Linked DNA regions of Homo sapiens: all the other regions are linked to region 1. The links are contacts of gene promoters, found by promoter capture Hi-C in blood cells and fetal thymus (Javierre and others, 2016). All regions are on one chromosome and are shown on one strand. Each heading gives the region's core, a stretch centred on a gene start or on the middle of the fragment in contact. The rest is flanking DNA. Distances are from core to core; before and after follow the strand shown. Region 1 holds the start of OR13D1 (olfactory receptor family 13 subfamily D member 1). Region 2 overlaps GRIN3A (glutamate ionotropic receptor NMDA type subunit 3A). Region 3 overlaps GRIN3A (glutamate ionotropic receptor NMDA type subunit 3A). Region 4 has its middle 9.3 kb from the start of GRIN3A. Region 5 has its middle 32 kb from the start of GRIN3A. Region 6 has its middle 50 kb from the start of GRIN3A. Region 7 has its middle 220 kb from the start of GRIN3A.

Region 1 (2,749 bases), core at 167-2,666:
TTGTGCAGGGATGCTGCACAACAACTATATATCCACTTCAAAGTGACTGAGAAAGGAGACAACAGAAAAGAAAGGAAGAGAAAGAAAATATACGGAGGAGAGGAGAGAGAGTAGCAGAATAGAGAGAGAGGACAAAATCAGAGGAGTAGAGAGAGACACACACATGGCAGGAGAGAGAAGAAAGAGAGACAGACAGAGAGAGAGACTGAGTGAGAGAGAGAGATTCATTTTAATGGACAGCATCAATATTTTTATAGGGCCAGTTTGCAGAACTGCTTACAGCTACAAACCCAGCAGACAAGGCACTATTAAGAAGGTTACATGAGCATGAAAATTCTACGTTGAAAAGAATGGGAATCTAATAGTTGGTTTTGCAAACACACAAGCTCTCGTGACAGTAGGTTTTGCAGTATCTAAATACAAAAGACAAGCTCTCTTGCCCCATTGAGGATATCGCATGCCCAAGGTTTTTCACATTTTCAATAAATGCAGATGTCTGCTCAGGACTTTCTTTACAGCCTCTTTGACCTCTTTATTCCTGAGGCTATAGATGATGGGATTTAACATTGGGCTTACCACTCCATAAGACAGCCCAATAATCTCATCAGATGTATTAGTGTTCTTTGACTTGGGTTTCATGTACATAAAAAGGGCTGAACCGTAGAATAAGATGACCACAATCGAGTGCGCTGAACAGGTAGAGAAGGCTTTCTTTCTTCCCTCAGCACAATTAATTCTCAGGATGGAAGAGAGAATAAACACATAGGAGATGAAAATTAACAGTAGAAGAATCACCAGTGAAACAATATTTGTCACTGTCATGATAAGCACATTGATGGTGATATCTGAACAAACAAGTTTTAGAAGGGCCAAAATTTCACAGGTAATATGATCAATGACATTATTCCCACAGAAAGGCAACATCATTGTCAGAACTGTTTGCAATAGGGAGGTCAGACAGCCTATGATCCAGGACCATGCAGCCATTTGCACATACAGCACTCCGTTCATGATGATGGAGTACCTCAGTGGGTTGCAGATGGCCACATAGTGGTCATAGGCCATCACAGCCAGGAGGACACACTCAGTGGAGCCCAAGCCAAGGGACACAACCATCTGCAGAGCACAGCCAATGAAGGAGATGGATTTTCTCTCAGACATAAATATAATAAGCATTGGAGGAATGGATGAGGATGTGTAACAGATGTCCAAGAATGAGAGGTTTCCAAGAAAGAAATACATGGGAGTATGGAGGCGAGAATCCAAGATGGTGATGATAATGAGGAGGCTATTTCCCAGGAGGATTATCATGTACATGATGAGGCAGAGCAGGAACAGAAAAAGCTGGAGCTCTGGATATTGGGAAAGCCCCACCAGAAAGAATTCAGTCATGGCAGAGTAATTTCTTGTCTCCATGTGTTCTAGGTCACCTGCCTGCTGGGTAGTATAGAAAAGGACATGATTCAGGTAAATTGAAATGTTTGATACATCAAAATCTGTAAATCTGTACATCTACAAATTTTCAATACAAATTTGCTTCCGATATTGTGTTTGATTCTTAGAATACTCTCAGTAAGCAAAACAGTATGGATATTGTACTAGTTTTATTGATTATGAAAATTGAGACATTGAGAAACCCAATATATCTTAGGACTACACAGCAGCACATTCAAAGCTACCAATACTGCCAGAATTATTCTGGGAAGTGTCAAATAAAGTTTAGGAACATGCTGCTTTCAAATGTAGAAAGAGATTTTGAACTTAAAGCTGTTTTTTTGATGAAGCTGGCCTCTATTTAAAAGATTTTATAGACTGCCAGTGACATATCATTTAACCTGGATGTAGCTTTGGTAAGTTGTTTATTTTTCTGAGTTGCAGATAGTTCATAGTAAGCTTGGAAAAAGCAATAATTATTTCTTAGAGTATAGTTAGAATTAGATAAAATATTAGGTGCCTAGAACCTAATGGTTCCAACATGGCATATGTGTGTGTGTGTGTGTGTATGCATATATGTAATATAATTATATTTACCTTATACAAGATATAATATTAAATGTATTTTTATACACATGCATTTTATGAATTATAGTATAATATTTAGATCTACCAATCTTAAAAGGGAAAAGTAGATTTAGCTTTTTAAAGGTAAAAGGTTTAAAGTTTGAAACCACACTTGACAGACTGTGAACATTTTTGTTCTCAGTGGGATATTTCATTGCACTTCTTTCAAAAACCTGTTAGGAGTCTGAGAATCATTGGAGGACTGTTCTAGAAGCTTCCAGAGATTAAGGAGTCTAGGTCCCAGCATGTACAGCTTTTTTTCCAGGCCCTGGGATTCTCTCTTCTTAAGTGTAGTATTACTGCCATTTTACAAAGTAGGAAACAGAGACAAAGAAAAGTTTAAGTAACTTTCTCAAGGTCATACAGATAGTAAATACTAAAGCCAGAATTCAATATCTAGCCATCTGGCTATAGAATCAGCCCTTTTACCCACCATACACTACTCTCTCTCAGTGGTTACTACACAGATTCCACGCAAGAGAAGACTATTACAAAAATGTATCTTCTGTTGGGGTACAGTGAGACAGCAAACATCATTTACTTGTGATTCTGATCATATGTGATGTGATGGAGAACTCTGAAGGCTGGACCACTTACTTTTTCCTGTAGCTTTTGATTGTGGTCTGCTCAGTTTTCTTTTCTTTTCTCTCGCTGTTTTTTTTTTTTTTTTTTTTTTTTAAGACGGAAT
Region 2 (2,749 bases), core at 174-2,673, 3.0 Mb after region 1:
GAACAAGAAGTCAGTCATTTCATTTCCATCCAGGCTTTCCCACCATTTCCTACTCACTGCCTTGTCTACCTCATTTGTTCTTCCACTTAGTTCTGTAACTTTGAAGCAGCTCTGAAGTACAGTGAAACCCATGACCTGGTTTGAAGCTAGTGAAGTCCAGGAAGAATTGCACTCTGTAGTTCAAAAGGCTCTTCTGGGTGATAGTCATTAAGAGAGAAATTTAGTGCAAAATCAAGATCTTTCTAGGTTTTCCAAGTAATTAATTAAACCATCAGATAGTAAGTGTATTGGTGAGACTTAGTCAGTTATTTGAAGAGTGAAATTTTAATGAAAAGAATTGTTAATTAAGTACAAACTTGTCAATTAGGTAGTTGGAAGGATAATAGGAGAACTTTATGATATCGTGAATTTAAATTCTCCAAGCAGTTGCCATTCATTGAGCTGAGGAAAGAACAAGAGACTGGAAATAGAAATATTTAGAGGCTTAGAGGGGTAGCCCCATAAAGCTGAAATTCAGGCATCTGAGGAAAAGGGGTGTTGCTCAGCTGGTGATGGAATCGTTGAGCTCCAAGGAGGGACCCTAAAGAGCTCAGGTTCAGACCTTTACCCTGCTGGTTGATGGTATCTCCGAGGGCACGGAATAAAGTGGTTCTACAAATATTGAAAAATAGCTACTGTCTCTCATTAAAGATTTTTTGAAAGTCGAGACTTGGAGCCTTAATTATCTTAGCTCTCTAGTTTCCATTCACCCACCCCTACTCTGTCCAGCTTTCCAATGCTCATTTCGCTATCAATTATCTCCAGTTTTGAAAGACAGCACTAGATTCCGCCACTGCCCTGGAAAAGAACCACTAACAAGTTGAAGAAGTATTGCTGGGGTGATGCTTACAGGAACCTAGAGCAGTCAGGTAACCCACAGAAAGCAAATCAGAGACAGAAAAGACAGACAAGAAGCAGCAAACCCTTTCTCTTCCTTCAGTCTTGCAGTCTCCCCCTAGTGGCCTCTACTGGCAAAGCCCACCAGAACCAGAAACGTAATGGGTGGAATACAGTAGTCTCCCCTCTTCAAGGTTTTGCTTTCCAAGGTTTCAGTTACCCATAGTCAACCGAAAATAAACAATTCATAAGTTTTCCATTGGACGCTATTCTGAGTATCATGATGAAATCTCCCACCGTCCCACCCTGACCTATCGGGATGTGTGAATCATCCCTTCGGTCAGTGAATCCGGGCTGTATGCACTACCCGCCTGTTGGTTATCAGCATCATCTGCCCCTGACATCCAACCATAGATGTCATCATGGCTCGATGATCCAGGATCTCCCAAAGCAGATGGTCCTCCTGACATATGGTCAGAAGTTCAGTAGTAGCCTAATGCTCTGTGACAATGCCAATGCCATTCACCTCACTTCATCTCATCACATAGGGATCTTATCATCTTACATTATCACAAGAAGGACGAGGGTGAGTACAGTACAGTAAGATATTTTAAGAGAGAGAGGCCACATTCACAAAACTTTTATTACAGTATATTGTTATATTGTCCTATTTTGTTATTAGTTATTGTTATTAATCTCTTCAATTAATTTATAAATTGAATTTTATTATATGTATGTATATGAGAAAACATAGCATAACTGCTCAGAGCTGTGGAGACTGCAATTTTCCAATTCATCTGAACTAAACAGTCAAAATCAGACAATTCAAACTTTAGAAGAAATCTATTAATGTGAATGATTTGCTTTAGCCATCTGCTTTGTCATTCAGAGTGCCTAAAACCATGTCTGGTTGCCAGTCAACTCTGTACCACATAATGTTACCATAATTGTTTGGCAAAATTTCTACCTGGGATACCTCATCACCAGAGGTTGACTTTTCTCAGTCGTCCCTCCCTTAGGAAAGCAACTTGAGTAAACTGATTATATAATTTTGCCATAAATAGAAATCCCTGAGTTACAACATGAATCCACAGAACAGGGTGGAAATTGGAAGGTATCAGCCTATTGCAGATCTCTAAACTAGAGGAGATCTCCATCCAAACACTAAATTCTTACCCTTGAATATGGACTTGGGGCATCAGTCATCTGCCAAATCTTAATATATACATTGATGCCACTGATGTCTGCAAAAGATTACCAGTATTTGCATATACTTGACATTCTCTATACAACAAGTGAATTTTTATGTTAATTTGTGTGTATGCATGAGACTCAGTAAGAATTCTCCAAAATAGAAAGATTTGTTGGAATACCAAATAGCTACTATCTGTCATTTAAGATTTTTTGATAGTTGAGACTTAGAGCCTTAATTATCTTAGCTCCCCAGTTTCCACCCACCCATCTCTACCCTGCCTAGACTCCCAGTGATCATTTACCTATAATTACCTCTCCTGTTCTTAAAGACTGAACTGATACTGTCCATACTTCAAATCTAATCTCTGTATTTTCTTCTCCCGGACCCCAAAATCACTGAGATTCACCCGGAGTTCTCTAAAACAGGATTTCCAGGAAAAACAATTTAGAGAATAACAGTAAAAGAGACCAATTTTATGTAGAATAGGTTTACGTTCAAGGCATCCAAGCAACACTTTTTGAAATGTTCTTTAAGCCATCATGTTGATAGATCATAAAATGACATCTATCATTCTCTGAGTCTTTCATAACTGAAAAAGGAATAAATGCAGTGTAGAGTCAGGCTAGAGTGTTTCACTTCCTTGGGGCCTTGGGTACTTGTATAATAATTTTTAAAACA
Region 3 (2,749 bases), core at 83-2,582, 3.0 Mb after region 1:
TCTGGTGCTGCAGAAGGCACCATGGATTTTGTACCATTAGATTTTATTTTATAAATAACCCCCCAGTCAAATTCCAACCACAATAGTTAAAAGAGCACAATGTAATGAAACGCATATGAAATAGTGGCCAAAATGTTCCCAATCTGCCTCTTTCGTTGCAGATGTTCCCAATCTATCTCTCACTAGCCATGTAATTTTGGGCAAGTGACTATCTCTGAGCATCTACACTTATCAGAAGTGTAGATCAAAAGAAGGTACTTTACCAATCTGACAAAGATGTTGTGAATCAAATGAGAAAGTAAAAGTACTTTGGAAAAGTTATAGTGTTACCCAAATAACTAGTGGAGAGGTGTTGGTCATTATCTGGTAAGAATCACTTAAGTGTTAAAGTTCAACTAATTTTCTTTTCGAAATTACTAATCAAAATGAGATATGATTCACATGTAAAATGTTTGCATTCCCCTTACACCTTCCTCTTTACCCTCTCCCTCATTTTTTTCTCTTAAAAAAAAGTGGGCTTAGAAATAAACAAACAAACAAAAAACTAGGTTCCTAAGTAGGTTGCACACTTGCCTGGAAAAAGAAGACATGCCACAGTACTGTTTCTGTATTACCAGCAACTTTTAACCTATGGCACATCTAACACAGCTTCTAGAGCCTTAAGTCCTGCCATAGAAATATCATTAAGATGCCCAAGATATTTGAGAAATGTTGGTCCTTCACATTGCTCATAAGTTTTTTCTATAGGCAAACTATCATTCAGGAAATTATGACCATACAGAGTCTACCCCACTCTCACTCCTATTCCGCCAACTACACCACAAAGCAAACATCCAAATTTTTTCATAGCAAACTTTCTTGATAAGGAAAGCAGTGTGTTGATTCATACTGACCTAAGCTCCTTATCTCATCATGGATATATAATTTACAAACCAGCTACTTTGAGTCCCATTGCCCTAGATAACTGTATACTCTCTTAGGAAAGTATTGCTCATTTTAGTGGCAACAGTAAATATAGAGATGAGAAATCTCATTGTCTTTTTTTCTGCTAGCTCTGGCTATTGCCACATATACACAAGAATAGAGGACCTATGTAGCACCAGAAATATGATGCCAAATCCATAAAACTAGGCAAGAAGAAAGAACATCTCTTAGCATCTGCCATATTACTTTTTGAGTGAATGTTTGAATGACAAACTCATAGAAATTTTTAACCTCTCAGTTGTCTTTTGCTGATATTTTCTCTATGAGATCACAGGAGCAAAGAGCAATGGGGAAGAGGTGAGCTAAGAGTAAGCCAACTCTCTCCATTTCCTTCTCCTTTCCTCAACCTGACACCTCAGCCAAATTCTCAGATATTTTATTTAATTGTGTAAGATTCATGCACTTTCAGGGAGACTGTCAACTGTATTTGATCTCCTGCCTTGAAAAAGTGGGTTGATCCCTGACCTGGCTGGCATTATGTCATGAGGAGTAAACTTTGACATTGAAAGGCTGGTGTCTGATTGGCCAGGGCTGGTTTGTTAATGGAGATGAGCCTGCAAGGGTTCATGTGGTAGAGAATTAAGCAGGATGACTCCTTTTTCAGTCAGGATGAATTACACCTCATCGTTATTCATTTGAAGCATAGATTTAGGAAGAATTTTAATCATATTATATTTTTGCAGCATTTATGTTTTTCAAGGCTTTTTCACAAATATGTTTAAATAATCTCCTAACAGCCCTGTAAAGCAAATGACTATGTATAGACAAAATATGGAGAAATAGAAAGAACTATGCATTGTAGGAAGTGAGAAGCCATCCAGAAGAAAAACAGACTAATAGCACCTTCTTAACTTCGTCTATTTGTCAGCCTTCAACCAAAGAACAGATTGGATCCATCACAGCTTTTGTAATATCCCATAAGAAAAGGCATAAAAGAGAGAAGTATCTACTTCCAGGTTGGACTATTAAAAGCATATTATATAATAATGTTCAAAATGATGGAAATGTAATTAATTGAATCATTTTTTAACGGAGTACAATGTACTCATTCAAAATGAGGATATATTTATTGACACAGAAAGATAGAAAAATTTTACAAAAATGTATGTAAAGTGTGACCTTGTTCCTGTAAAATATGAAGTCTAGAACTTTGTTTATAAAAATCTTAACAGGGATTATAGAGGGTGAAAATCTACATTTTTCTCTATTCATGCATCTATTTTTCTAAAAATAATCATTTTTACCTACAGAATTAAAAAATAATAAGAGAAAAAAGATAAGTTGTCTTTATACTTTCTCATCTAGACTTTCAATACTTCAGTATGAAAATACATATTTTAGAAAGAATAAATTGTAGTGTATGTTTAAATGTATCAAAGCCCTCTCTCATCTCTTTTATAATTTTTTCCTCACAGTTACTTTGTGAGGAGAGCCAGAAAAATATTATTACCATTATAATGTAAATGAGATAATTATAACATATGATGGAGGAAATATAAGGTGGGAGTTAAGAGATTACATTTTTGAGAAGTTCAGAGCTATGTTAGAATCTTGGCTGTACAACTTTTTAGACATCCTACCTTGGAAAACATACCTGATGTCTCCATGTTTCAATTTATTAAGTCATAAAATGTGATTATCTTATAAGTTTATGGTGAGGACTGCACCATATGTACCTAGAGCAGTGTGTTCTTATGATGTTGATAATTGTTCTTTTAGCATAAAGTGTTGACGTGGCAAGATTCATAAAAACTAATCAGAAAAA
Region 4 (2,749 bases), core at 174-2,673, 2.9 Mb after region 1:
CACTGTTATTATGCCTAATGGGCAAGAACTATACTTTCAAATAACACCTGATATATTTTCCCCTCTCGATAATCAATTTGTTTTTAGTTATGCAACCATTCCACCATTAAAACTAGATGGAGATAAGTTTTATTATTTAAGAGAGAACAAGGAGGATAAAATCATACCACTGACATTTTAGCTTCTGAGTATACTTTTGCAAAATTACAGCAAAAGTGATCACTATTGAAGCCCATGTTTTAAAGAGCCAGGCTTGACACAGAAAAGTTTTGCTGTTGTATTTGTTTTGGAATTCTACAAACCTTAAAAGATCTAGAACCCAACCCCTGGAAAGATTGTAAATTTTTTTCACAGATGGATTGAAAAAAGTTTACATGATGATTTAGGAGTTAGCTGAGGGAAGAAAAGCATTACCAGTTAACAGGAAAGGGAGAATTAGAGGGGGTATGACTATACATTTTCTGCAGTGGGCCTCCAACTGTGCTCAGCTCTCCAACTCATTTTGGGTTTTGTGGTGAATAGACTTCAGGATGGATCCCATAATCCCCACGTCTTGTGTCCATGCCCTTGAGAGAAGGCAGGTCCCGTGACTTGGTTCTAACCAATAGAATATAGCAAGTTAACAGGATGTCACTCCTGTGATTAACATTTTACAGCAAAGGTGGTAAGATATCTCTCCTGTGATTAGGTTATATTATGTATTACATAAGGACTGTGTCTTAATAGAGACTCTCCTTGAGGGATTAATGAAATAAGTGGCCATATTGGAAAAGTCCACATGGAAAGGAACTCCAGGTGGCGTCTAGAAACTACTGCTGGTCTCTAGGACCTGAGGACAGCCAGCAACCAACAGTCAACAAAAATCTAAGGCCCTCATTTTTACAGTACCAAGGAACTTCATCCTGCCAACAACCTGAATGAACTTCAAAGTAGATTCTTCCCCAGTTGAGCCTCCAGGTGAGAATACATCCTAGCCAACAGATTGATTGGTAACCCCCTGAGAAGAGTACCCAAGTAAACTGTACCTGGACTCCTGACCCATGGAAACTATAAGGTAATATATGTGTGTTAATTTAAGCTGCTAAAGTTAAAGTAATTTTTTATTACAATTAATAGAAAACTACTACAGGGTTGAAATTTTCAAGGGGGAAACAGATGGACTACATAAATACTCAATTAGGCTAAGAGAATCCCACATCAGAAAGAACTCTTCTCCAGCAACTTAGAGCACAGCTTTTAAGATTGAAAGCCTTGTAGGGAAACCTCAAGTCCACAAATCCCCTAAGCATTAGAACAGTGGCCCAAGGAAGCACCTAGATTGAGGCCTAAGATCAACTTCCTCAAGTTTCACACTACCCAGTGTGGAATGGATGAGTCTCAGAAAATTCTCATCACTCCCTTAGAGAGATGCAAAAGTGACTGAAAGAGCCAATGGCCCAGAGAAGTCAGGAGTTGGAATAGGGGGGATACAGTACTTAAGGTTTCAACAGAAGGTGCAGGCCCACATCAGGAGTCACCATAGCAAACAAAGAAACCTCAACAAAGTCAACTCCCTTCCTTCCACACAAGGACAATTCATAAACCCACTTCCATACTGCAGAAAAGATGAAGGAAAATGAGAGTGAAAGAACCCTAAAGGAATTTGTTTAATCCAAACAGACTAAATGTCTTTACACTTATATATTTAAGTTTTCCATCATCAGTAGAAATGGACATTTGAAAGGTAAATTAAATTTTAGTTACAGAGAAGTAAAGTGGCATTTTTGCAACCAAAAAGGCCATCCACTTGGGGACTATATAATTTCAAAACCACTATATTTACTATGACAAATAGAAAATATATATTTATTTATGCATACTTTTATTAATGGTACATTTTGTTTCTATTTTATCCTATTATTCTAATTTATGATTTCTGGCCTATGCTGTAATATTCGACTAGCTACCATTTTTTTTCATTGATTCTTTTATGTTTGACATCCATACAAAGAACCCAATTGCAATTAAGAATGTTTCTTCCATTTCAAACCTTATTCCTTTATTCCTGTTGGAATGATAAAATTTTCCAGCACTAGTGAGGCTTCCAAGCAGGGACCTTTTTATTTATTTCTGAGTTCTATACCAAACATCTATCATCTTCCTAACACAGAGCTGATTTAGTCTCCACAAGTGATGTGTCAACAGTTATTAAATTATGCGTGTTCTCAGCCTCCATCCTAACCCAAGATACTAAAGAAGATCCTGGCTTGAAGTCCTCAGTCTCCTGTCAACTGAATTCAATCCATTCTCCTGAGGTTTGTTATGCAGAATCAGGAAGAAAGCTAGAGACAGAGAAAGACTGGGAGGCCACAGGCTACGGCTAGGGAAATCTTTAAACAGGGAAAGGTTTGAAGATTATAAGTAAAGTTTAGAATGAAAAAAAAAATGTAAAAGCAGTTGTAATGAGTAAAGAAAATGCATGAGAGAAAGAGGAAAAATATTTTTAAATTACTGTGATACATGTATTTTTCTTTGTGCTATTTGAAAGATACAAATAAAGGATTTTCATTTTAAGATTATCTTGTGACTGGATGTGTTTATTCTAAGCTAAATACCACTTACTCTAGGCACTATATGAATGTATGGAATTATTCTTAATAAATACAACATGCTGAGAATGTTCATTTCTTGATGGTTCAAGATCTCCACTGTGTTGGGTCATACAAAGATCATGAATCTGCACTGTATAAGGTTATAGATATAAATATAA
Region 5 (2,749 bases), core at 121-2,620, 2.9 Mb after region 1:
TTCAGGAAAGGGCCTGTTTTAGTATCCCTCCCATGCTCAGTCACTGGCCAGTGAAAGCCCAGGGAAATGTGGCCTCAGAGGGAATGCAGTGATGGATTCAGAGCACAATAGCTGGGGCTGCTACCCTCCCTGCAAGTCAGAGATATGGCAAGCACATTTTGTAACCACTGTGAAGAGTGTAAACAATTTGCCAAGATTTCACAGATAAAAAATATATAAAGCCAATATTCTACCTCATGCAGTGACTTCACAACTCAAACAACTACCATGCAAATCTCCTTCCATCATCCCCACTTCAAAGGATGTTGGAACACTCATCTAACTCATTTCCCTACTTCCAGCCTTGTCCCTAATCCATCCCTCCACACAGAAGCTAAGTAATTATTATGAATGCTACCCACCTTCTCAAAATTATGTAATGCCTTCCACACTCTCTCAGAATAAAATCTAAAGTTTCTAACACAGCATACATCCCTAATGATCTGGTTTCTGTCTACTCAAGTCTTATTTTCTGACACTTCCACTGTTTTTCAGCTCTACAAAAATATTCACCTCCTCATTCTTCACTCATCCACTCAATAAGCATTTGTGGAACATCTATCATATATGACAAGTCTGTTTTAACAACAAGAAATTTCTCAAAGTTAGATGATGCCCCTATTCTCTTTAGTGAGATAATAAGTATCAAAATTAATAAATTCAAAGAAGGATAAATGCTATGAATCAGAAAAAAAAAATGTTATAGGAGTAACAAGATTGGAAAGATGGTCCAGAAAGGGCTGAATGATAATTTGGAGGGAGAAGTTTCTAGGAGAGGGGATGAGGATAAAGACTCTGAAGAGGAAGGAGGTCAGTACCTTCAAGGAACAGAAAGAAGGCCAGTGTGTCAGAAGGGGAGTAGGCAGGGGGAGAGTAGACCAGGAGAGACAAGAGGGCTTGATATTGTGAAGCTAAAAGAGGGTACTACGCAGAGGAATGACATAACAATACTTTTATGTTTTAAAAGGAGCACTTTGGTTGCCGGATCAAGAGTGAATTATAGGGAACAAATACAGGAGCTGAATTTGCAGGTTCCTGGGCATACCACATTTGCTTACTCATCTCTATTACACCTACAGAAAATTTTTGCTCTATTACACCTACAGAAAATTTTTGCTCATACTTGAAATATCAGCCTAAATACTAGCATCTCTGTGACACCTTCTCTCATTCATGTAGGAAGATCTAACCACTTCTTCTTCTAGAATTCCATTGCATCAGGGGGAGTTCTAGCAAACTGCTAGAACCCATTATCCTTTGGAGAGACCAGAGAATCATGTAGACTTCTGGCATTTGTACTATTTTTCTTTATATACTAGAGAAAATGCTGGTACTGTCACTATGCACCAGTTAACTCTGGCTCCCAAGTTGTAGTTGGATGAAACAATTAGTCGGCCTTGGCCAGGCACGGTGGCTCATGCCTCTAATCCCAGCACTTTGGGAGGCCGAAGCAGGCAGATCTCGAGACTAAGAGGTCAAGACCATCCTGGCCAACATGGTGAAACCCCGTCTCTACTAAAAACACAAAAATTAACTGGGCATGGTGGTGCACACCTGTAATCCCAGCTACCTGGGAGGCTGAGGCAGGAGAATCACTTGAACCCAGTAGGCAGAGATTGCAGGGAGCGGAGATCACGCCACTGCACTCCAGCCTGGCAAGAGAGCAAGACTCCATCTCAAAAAAAAAAAAAGAATTAGTTGGCCTTTTAAAGAGATCATAATAATTTCTATTAAAACCAACATATATAAGTTAAAAGGAGAACTTACAAATGGTAAATGCTAAAAGAAATGCCTATGTAATAACTAATTTTAATTTTTTGTTTGTTTGCAGCTTTTAATACTGATTTCAGCATTATATAACAGATGCTATCTTGGGCATCTACAGGCATTATTTTATAAAACCTTTCCAATAGTCCTGAGAGAGAAGTCTGCCCTCTGTAGTCATTACCAAGTTGATTTCTTTCAAATGCATCACAGTCTTGACATATTTATAAAATTAATGCTTCCCAATTTTCAAACTCAGTCTTTAGCAAGAAGTAAAGTATATCCTTGATAGCTCCTTGCAGTAGAAATATTTTTCCTCTGACATTTTAACAAGTTTTCTATTTCACTCTCTTGTCGTCGGAATGCTGCCTTGAGGATTTTCTCATCTTCTAGCCAGTGTCAAACCCTAATCCTTCTTACAGGCTTCAATATCTATATTCCAAACCCATAGATAAAAAGCAATTTCTTCCTGAAGTTTCCTGATGGGAATCACAGTGGACTCACAAGAACCCACATTGGGAAGTATTATGGAAACCTATGAGGCATTACATTCTTTCCTCCAAGTCTGCAGAAAGTCTAAAAACAAATCAATACATGTTGAGTGTCTAAATGCCTTCCTGCCAGCCAGTTTCTTTAGGATTAAAGGGATTCTCCAACCCTCTCCCTACAAAAAACAAGTGAAGAGCTGCACTGAAACTCTCTATGTCTAATTGACAAATGCATTACAGTGGGAACTCAAGTTCCTTGATTAATATGATGCTTCCCTTTCACCTGCCTTCTAATGACTGGGCCATCCATTGCTTCATTGTCGAATCATTGCAACTTTGAGTTGCCACAAATGAGAAGTCCTTTGTGTAAACACAGTTCCCTAAGTAAGAAAAGCAGCATAGACTCACCAAGTTGTTCAGGGCCAGCTGTCAAATCAGAGATGAAAGAACTGATTTTT
Region 6 (2,749 bases), core at 87-2,586, 2.9 Mb after region 1:
CATACTCTTCTGATTTGGTTCCTCATTAACTCTCCAACCTCATCTCTCATCCTCTCAACACCAATATGCCCCATTCATGCCAAACCACTGTGTGACAGGATCCAATGACAACGACAAATTTCATGAAACACGTATAATTCTACTTGTATCTAAGGTTAAAGGACTTTCTTATTAAGTGTCTGGGGGTGAAGGATGGGGTTTTTAAGGAAACCTATGTCAATGAACCCCATTTGTGTGCATAAAGATAACCAGTTGCATGTAGGTTTGATTTCTGCAGAATATAGGTAATTCCCAAGGGGACCAGCAGAGAAGAAGGAAAAAAAATGTTAGCTTCACCAGGCTCCTTAAATTATGACAACACTTACACATGACTGGCCCAGAATTTAGGCTGCAGTGAAGCATTTCTAATGGCTCAATTCCAAGGCTAATAGAGCCAAGCAACTCTTTGAGGATCCTCTATGTCCTCTCATTTTTTAAAACCCCAGATGCTAGCATATAATCAATGCTTAACTCTATGTTGCAGATCCTTTGCAGGGATTGTGCTCATATAACCTACATTTTCCAGGACAATTGTGATTTCAAATATTCTCCTCTGTAAACCATGGAAATGTTTCATAAATTACAATTTTATGAAAATAATAATGGAGAAGATCAAGAAAGTTAAGTATTGTAGTAAAATTTTAGATGTGAAAAGATGAATAGCACAAAAGAACTGAGACATCAGAGGCCAAGGAAGCATTGTGATACATTGTGAAAACAAAGTATACTATCCCATGTCATATACATCTAGGTATGTAATGTTAAATGTGTGTAACATGTGGCACCCTCAGATAAAAATAAATCATGTTAAAGTGACATTCTGCAAGGAAGCCACTTTCCTGGTTGGCACAATGTGAGGATCAGAATTGAAATGAAGAGTCAGATAGGTATTGTCTTGTTTTATTGTTTGTTTGTTTGTTTGTTTGTTTTATGATTCTTGGAACTTCATGAAAAAATTAATGGAGAAAATTGAAAACCTCAGTGAATTACATGAAAAGAAAACAATATACATTTTACTGTGAAGTTATGTATAGTAATTTATTACAACTTTTACTATTTTGACCACTGCAAGATATTTTGATAGACTCTTGTGACCTCACTTGTTCACTCCTTTAATGAATATTGAGCATCTCCTGTGTGTTGGACACTGTCCTAGGTACTTGGAATGTGAACCTAATGAAACAACACAGGTCACTGTCTTCAAGAAGCTTATATTCTAGCAGTGGACAGATAATACCAATAGGTTTGTAAATTAGTAAATCACATCAGATGTTAAAAGATGATAAATTTTATGCAAAAAAAGTAGTGTAGGGCAGAGGAATTCAGAGTGCCATTAAGGGAAAAGTGTAAGGCTGTAGTATTAATAGAGTGATCAAGGTAAGCTTTATTTGGAAGATAAAATTTGAGCAATCACTTGAAAAAGGTGAAAGAATTAAACAGACAGCTGGGGAAGCATGTTCCAGGCAGAGGGGACAGCTGGAGCAAATGCTCTAGGATGAAAGGACTTTTCACAGTTGTGATTTCACATTTGTATTTTGATCATTGTATTAATCTGCCTCCTTCCTTAGACAGTATCTCCAAAAAAGGTAAGAACCATATCTGCTTTGTTCAATTTTCTCTTAGCATCTAGACCAAGAATGCTCAGAAAATATATATACTGAATGATTAAATAAATGAATATTAATTTGCACATTCATTTTTCTAATGAACTAGGAAAACTCTTCACCTGGTTTGACTAAGAGATTTTCTATTCTAGTCTATTCTAGATTTTGCTCATTCATTCACTTGTGGCTGATTCTAGTCTGTGTGTCCAGCTCCATTACTGACTCATACTAGCCTGTAATTGAATGATACTGCCTTCCATCAGCATACCTATTACTAATTGCAGAAAAACTATAGCTTCATTCTCTACCTGATAGAACTTCACCTTAAGTATGAGAGTGCTTATAAACCTTCCAATACCATCTAATAAATGTCTTCTACAGATTTTTTCCATGGGAGTTCATTTTGGTTCCTCCTAGCATGGCTGAGCAGATTCTGTTCTCTGTTTCTTTATTCTTTGGCTGACTGCCTATGTTCTGCAGAATCAGTATTCTGCTCTGCTGTGTGATGGACAGGGGGTTATCCCACTTCTTTTTGGCAGGAAGAGGGACTTCAAGTTTGGCTCTGAGCTGAAAATGAATAACACACTAGAAAAAATAAGGTCACCACTATTCCTCCTGTGTAACTCGCTATTAAATATTTTCTTTGCATGAATTAGCTCAGGAATTTTAGTATTTAACTATTTTGAGCCCAGTACCATAAAACATAAATGTACAATATGCCAGTTAAGCTCTGTGAATTCTACAGCACATAAAAAACTAAGCAACTGTCATTGGAAAAAAACACAAAATTACATTCCTGCAGTTCAAATTTTTATCAAGTATGTTTGAAAATATTTTATTATTGTATTGCAGAATACAAAAAGTAAGCAGAAATACGTAAGAGAAATCTTCTAATACAATATGTGAAAAGGTATACTTTTTCTAAATAATATGTCCATTTTTATCACATTTGACATAATACACAGAGTTATGATGGAAATAAAGTTTACAAAGCACCTACCATGTTCTAAGAATAAATAATATAATGCATGTAAAGTGTATCTGTTCATAATGAACCTATAATGTATATAAGGTATTATTATCACTGTGGATTCACCTTTACTCTG
Region 7 (2,749 bases), core at 64-2,563, 2.7 Mb after region 1:
GAAGTATTTTAATTTATTTTCAGAATTCCAACAACTTGACAAAAACGTATCTATATCTATACACAGGTAGATATTAACATTATATAACAAAGTACTCATTATTAGAAAGGAAGAAAAACTGCATTTATTTCTATTATTAGACTATAAAATACAGTAGCGTTTTATTTTCCTATCAGTATAATCCCACTACCTAGCACAATGTCAGGCAAACAGTTGTTGCCCAATAAATGATAGATAACATAAATCACATTTAGAGCCATAAAACAAGTCTCAATAAAATTAAAATTATTCAAGTAACATAAATTATGTTCTCTGATTGCAATGAAATTAAAAAAATAAAAAAATCAATTATGAAAAGATTTCTGAAGATTTACCAATATTTGGAAATTAAATTATATACTCAACAACTCATGGGTCAAAGTAGAAAGCAAGGACAAAATTATAAAGTATTTTGAACTAAATAAAATATAAATGTGTATCAAAATTTGTGAGATGCCACTAAAGTAGTAAAGCAAATAGGAAAACTTATAGCAATAAATGCCTAAATTAGGAAATATGAAAAGTTCCAAATAAAAAGAAAACTCAGCTGTTACATTGAGGACCAAGAAATGAAGAGCAAATTAAACCCACAGAAGCAGAAGAAAAGTAGTTGAAAATTTCAGATTGAATATAAATAAAGTAGAAAACAGGAAAACAATAGAGAAAAAATAGCTGGCTGTTTGAGAATATCAATAAAATTGATAACCTGAAGGCACACAGATGAAGAAAAATGGGCATAAGAGAAGTTACCAATATCAGGAAGAACAAATGTTGCATCACTACAGGCTCTTCAAAAATTAAGATAAATAAATACTTTGAACTACTTTATGCCATTTTAACTTAGATATAATGGCACATTTGCTAAAAGACACAAACTATCAAACTCATTCAAGAAGAACTGATCATCTAGATAGCCCTATACCTATTAAAGAAATCTAATTTGTTGTTAAAAATTTCCCCTTCCAGGCCCAAATAGCTTTGCTAACAAGTTATACCTAATATTTAATAAAGAAATAATACAAGTTCTACACAAATTCTTTATAAAACTAAAGAGGAGAAAATATCTCTTAACTCTTAACTCATCCTATGAAGCCAGTAGTAACTTGATTCTCACACCTGATAAAGACATTAAAAGAAGACATAAGATCATTATTTTTTATAAACATATATGCAAAAATTATAAATATAATTTCAGAAAATTGAATCCAATGATATTTTTAAGACATGACATATCATGATGAAGTGGAGTATATAAATTGGTTTGACATTTTACAATTAGACAATATCATATGTTATATTAACAACCTCAAAATAAAGATAAAGCATGTGAATATCTCAATAGTTGCAGACAAAGCAATTAATAATTCTTAATATTGGTTCCTGATTTAAAAAAAACCTTCAGGAGACTAGAAATAGAAGTGACAGTTTTCAAGCTGATTAAAGGCATCTGCAAAAAACTTACAGCTAACATGATGCTAAACTTACAAGACTAATTGTTTCCCCACCAAGGTTAGGAACAAGTAGGAGTGTTCATCATAACTGTTTCTATTCAATATTATAATGGATACACTAGCAGATTCAATAAAGCAGGGCAATGAAATAAAACCCATCCAGATTATACCCATCTTTAATTATTGAAAAAATGATCATCTGTCTACATAATCTGATAATGTCTACAAATAAATGACTAGAATAAGTGAGTTTAGAAAGGTTACAGGATATGCAATTAAAATGTAAAAATTAATTGTACTTATATATTATACCAATAAAGAATGAAAAAATATAACTAACAATACAATACCATTTCCAAAGCATCAAAAATATAAAATTGTTAAGGATAAATCTGACAAAATATGTATATACTAAAAATTACATGAAGTTCATAAATATTAGGGAAGACAAATAAATGAAGAGATATACTGTGCTCATGGATCAAAAGAATTAAAATTGTTAAGATGTCAATTCTTCCCAAATCGATCTATAGAATCAATATATTCCAAATACAAATCTAAGCCTGCTTTAAAAAACTTAGCTGATTATTAAATTCACAGACTCCATCTCAAAAAAAAGTAGAGTAAATAAGACAATGTGGTATGAGCAAAAAACACAAAAAAACTCATCAATGAAGCAAAATATAGAGTCCAGAAATATAATCACACGTGTAAACAACTGATCTTCAACAAGGGTACAAAGGCAATACAATATAGAATGATCTTTGTAAACAAATGTTGCTTGAACAATTGGATATCCACAGCAAATACATGAAATTTGATCCTTACCTCACACCATACAATATAAAATTAACACAAAGTAGAACACAGAACTAAAAAGTAAAATTATAACATTTCTAGAAGAAATGACAGGAGAAAAATCTTTGTTACCTTGCCTTTGACAAATTTCATAGATATGACATCAATGGCACTATTAATTTTAAAAACATATAAATTTGACTTCAAAGTTACATGGGTCTGCATTTATTGTATATCAACTTATCTCAATAAAAATGTTAAAAGTAAATTACAAAAATAGTGTAAGGTTGCCAACTTTTTATTTTACTAAATAATGGCATGAAAATAAAACAATTTTATGTTATCACTATTATTTCATAAAGAAAAGATATGTAAAGTTAACCTCTTAAAAATAAATGATCATCCTTCAAATAAAATTAACATGTTTATTTTAAATTTATGCCTTTGTATTTATTTTCTCA

What was found. The method cuts DNA at HindIII sites, captures the fragments that hold promoters and counts their contacts. A CHiCAGO score of 5 or more calls a contact.
Region 2: a fragment that was not itself captured here is called in contact with the fragment with the promoter of OR13D1 in region 1 in 1 of 17 cell types (M0 macrophages); the score reaches 5.1 in M0 macrophages.
Region 3: a fragment that was not itself captured here is called in contact with the fragment with the promoter of OR13D1 in region 1 in 3 of 17 cell types (M0 macrophages, M2 macrophages and endothelial precursors); the score reaches 7.6 in M0 macrophages.
Region 4: a fragment that was not itself captured here is called in contact with the fragment with the promoter of OR13D1 in region 1 in 1 of 17 cell types (endothelial precursors); the score reaches 8.0 in endothelial precursors.
Region 5: a contact is called between a fragment that was not itself captured here and the fragment with the promoter of OR13D1 in region 1, in 1 of 17 cell types (M2 macrophages). The highest score is 6.3, in M2 macrophages.
Region 6: a fragment that was not itself captured here is called in contact with the fragment with the promoter of OR13D1 in region 1 in 6 of 17 cell types (M1 macrophages, endothelial precursors, naive CD8 T cells and 3 more); the score reaches 7.4 in M1 macrophages.
Region 7: a contact is called between a fragment that was not itself captured here and the fragment with the promoter of OR13D1 in region 1, in 1 of 17 cell types (M1 macrophages). The highest score is 5.1, in M1 macrophages.

What each region holds. Positions count from the first base shown.
Region 1 is chr9:104,693,185-104,695,933 of GRCh38, reverse strand. OR13D1 (olfactory receptor family 13 subfamily D member 1) reads right to left here and starts at 1,416. Exons shown (of 1, transcript NM_001004484.2): 1 at 472-1,416. The coding sequence starts at 1,416. The coding sequence ends at 472. The region is part of intron 1 of LOC107987105 (a long non-coding RNA gene); the gene reads left to right. The HindIII fragment of the contact is 5,977 bases long and covers 1-1,895 here.
Region 2 is chr9:101,709,786-101,712,534 of GRCh38, reverse strand. The region is part of intron 1 of GRIN3A (glutamate ionotropic receptor NMDA type subunit 3A); the gene reads left to right. Among named protein-coding and RNA genes, the nearest start is that of GRIN3A, 27 kb to the left of the region's middle. The HindIII fragment of the contact is 6,514 bases long and covers 1-2,749 here.
Region 3 is chr9:101,730,345-101,733,093 of GRCh38, reverse strand. The region is part of intron 1 of GRIN3A (glutamate ionotropic receptor NMDA type subunit 3A); the gene reads left to right. Among named protein-coding and RNA genes, the nearest start is that of GRIN3A, 6.9 kb to the left of the region's middle. The HindIII fragment of the contact is 5,344 bases long and covers 1-2,749 here.
Region 4 is chr9:101,746,603-101,749,351 of GRCh38, reverse strand. No RefSeq gene overlaps it. Among named protein-coding and RNA genes, the nearest start is that of GRIN3A, 9.3 kb to the right of the region's middle. The HindIII fragment of the contact is 2,918 bases long and covers 1-2,749 here.
Region 5 is chr9:101,769,359-101,772,107 of GRCh38, reverse strand. No RefSeq gene overlaps it. Among named protein-coding and RNA genes, the nearest start is that of GRIN3A, 32 kb to the right of the region's middle. The HindIII fragment of the contact is 4,715 bases long and covers 1-2,749 here.
Region 6 is chr9:101,787,479-101,790,227 of GRCh38, reverse strand. No RefSeq gene overlaps it. Among named protein-coding and RNA genes, the nearest start is that of GRIN3A, 50 kb to the right of the region's middle. The HindIII fragment of the contact is 174 bases long and covers 1,250-1,423 here.
Region 7 is chr9:101,961,426-101,964,174 of GRCh38, reverse strand. No RefSeq gene overlaps it. Among named protein-coding and RNA genes, the nearest start is that of GRIN3A, 220 kb to the right of the region's middle. The HindIII fragment of the contact is 3,968 bases long and covers 1-2,749 here.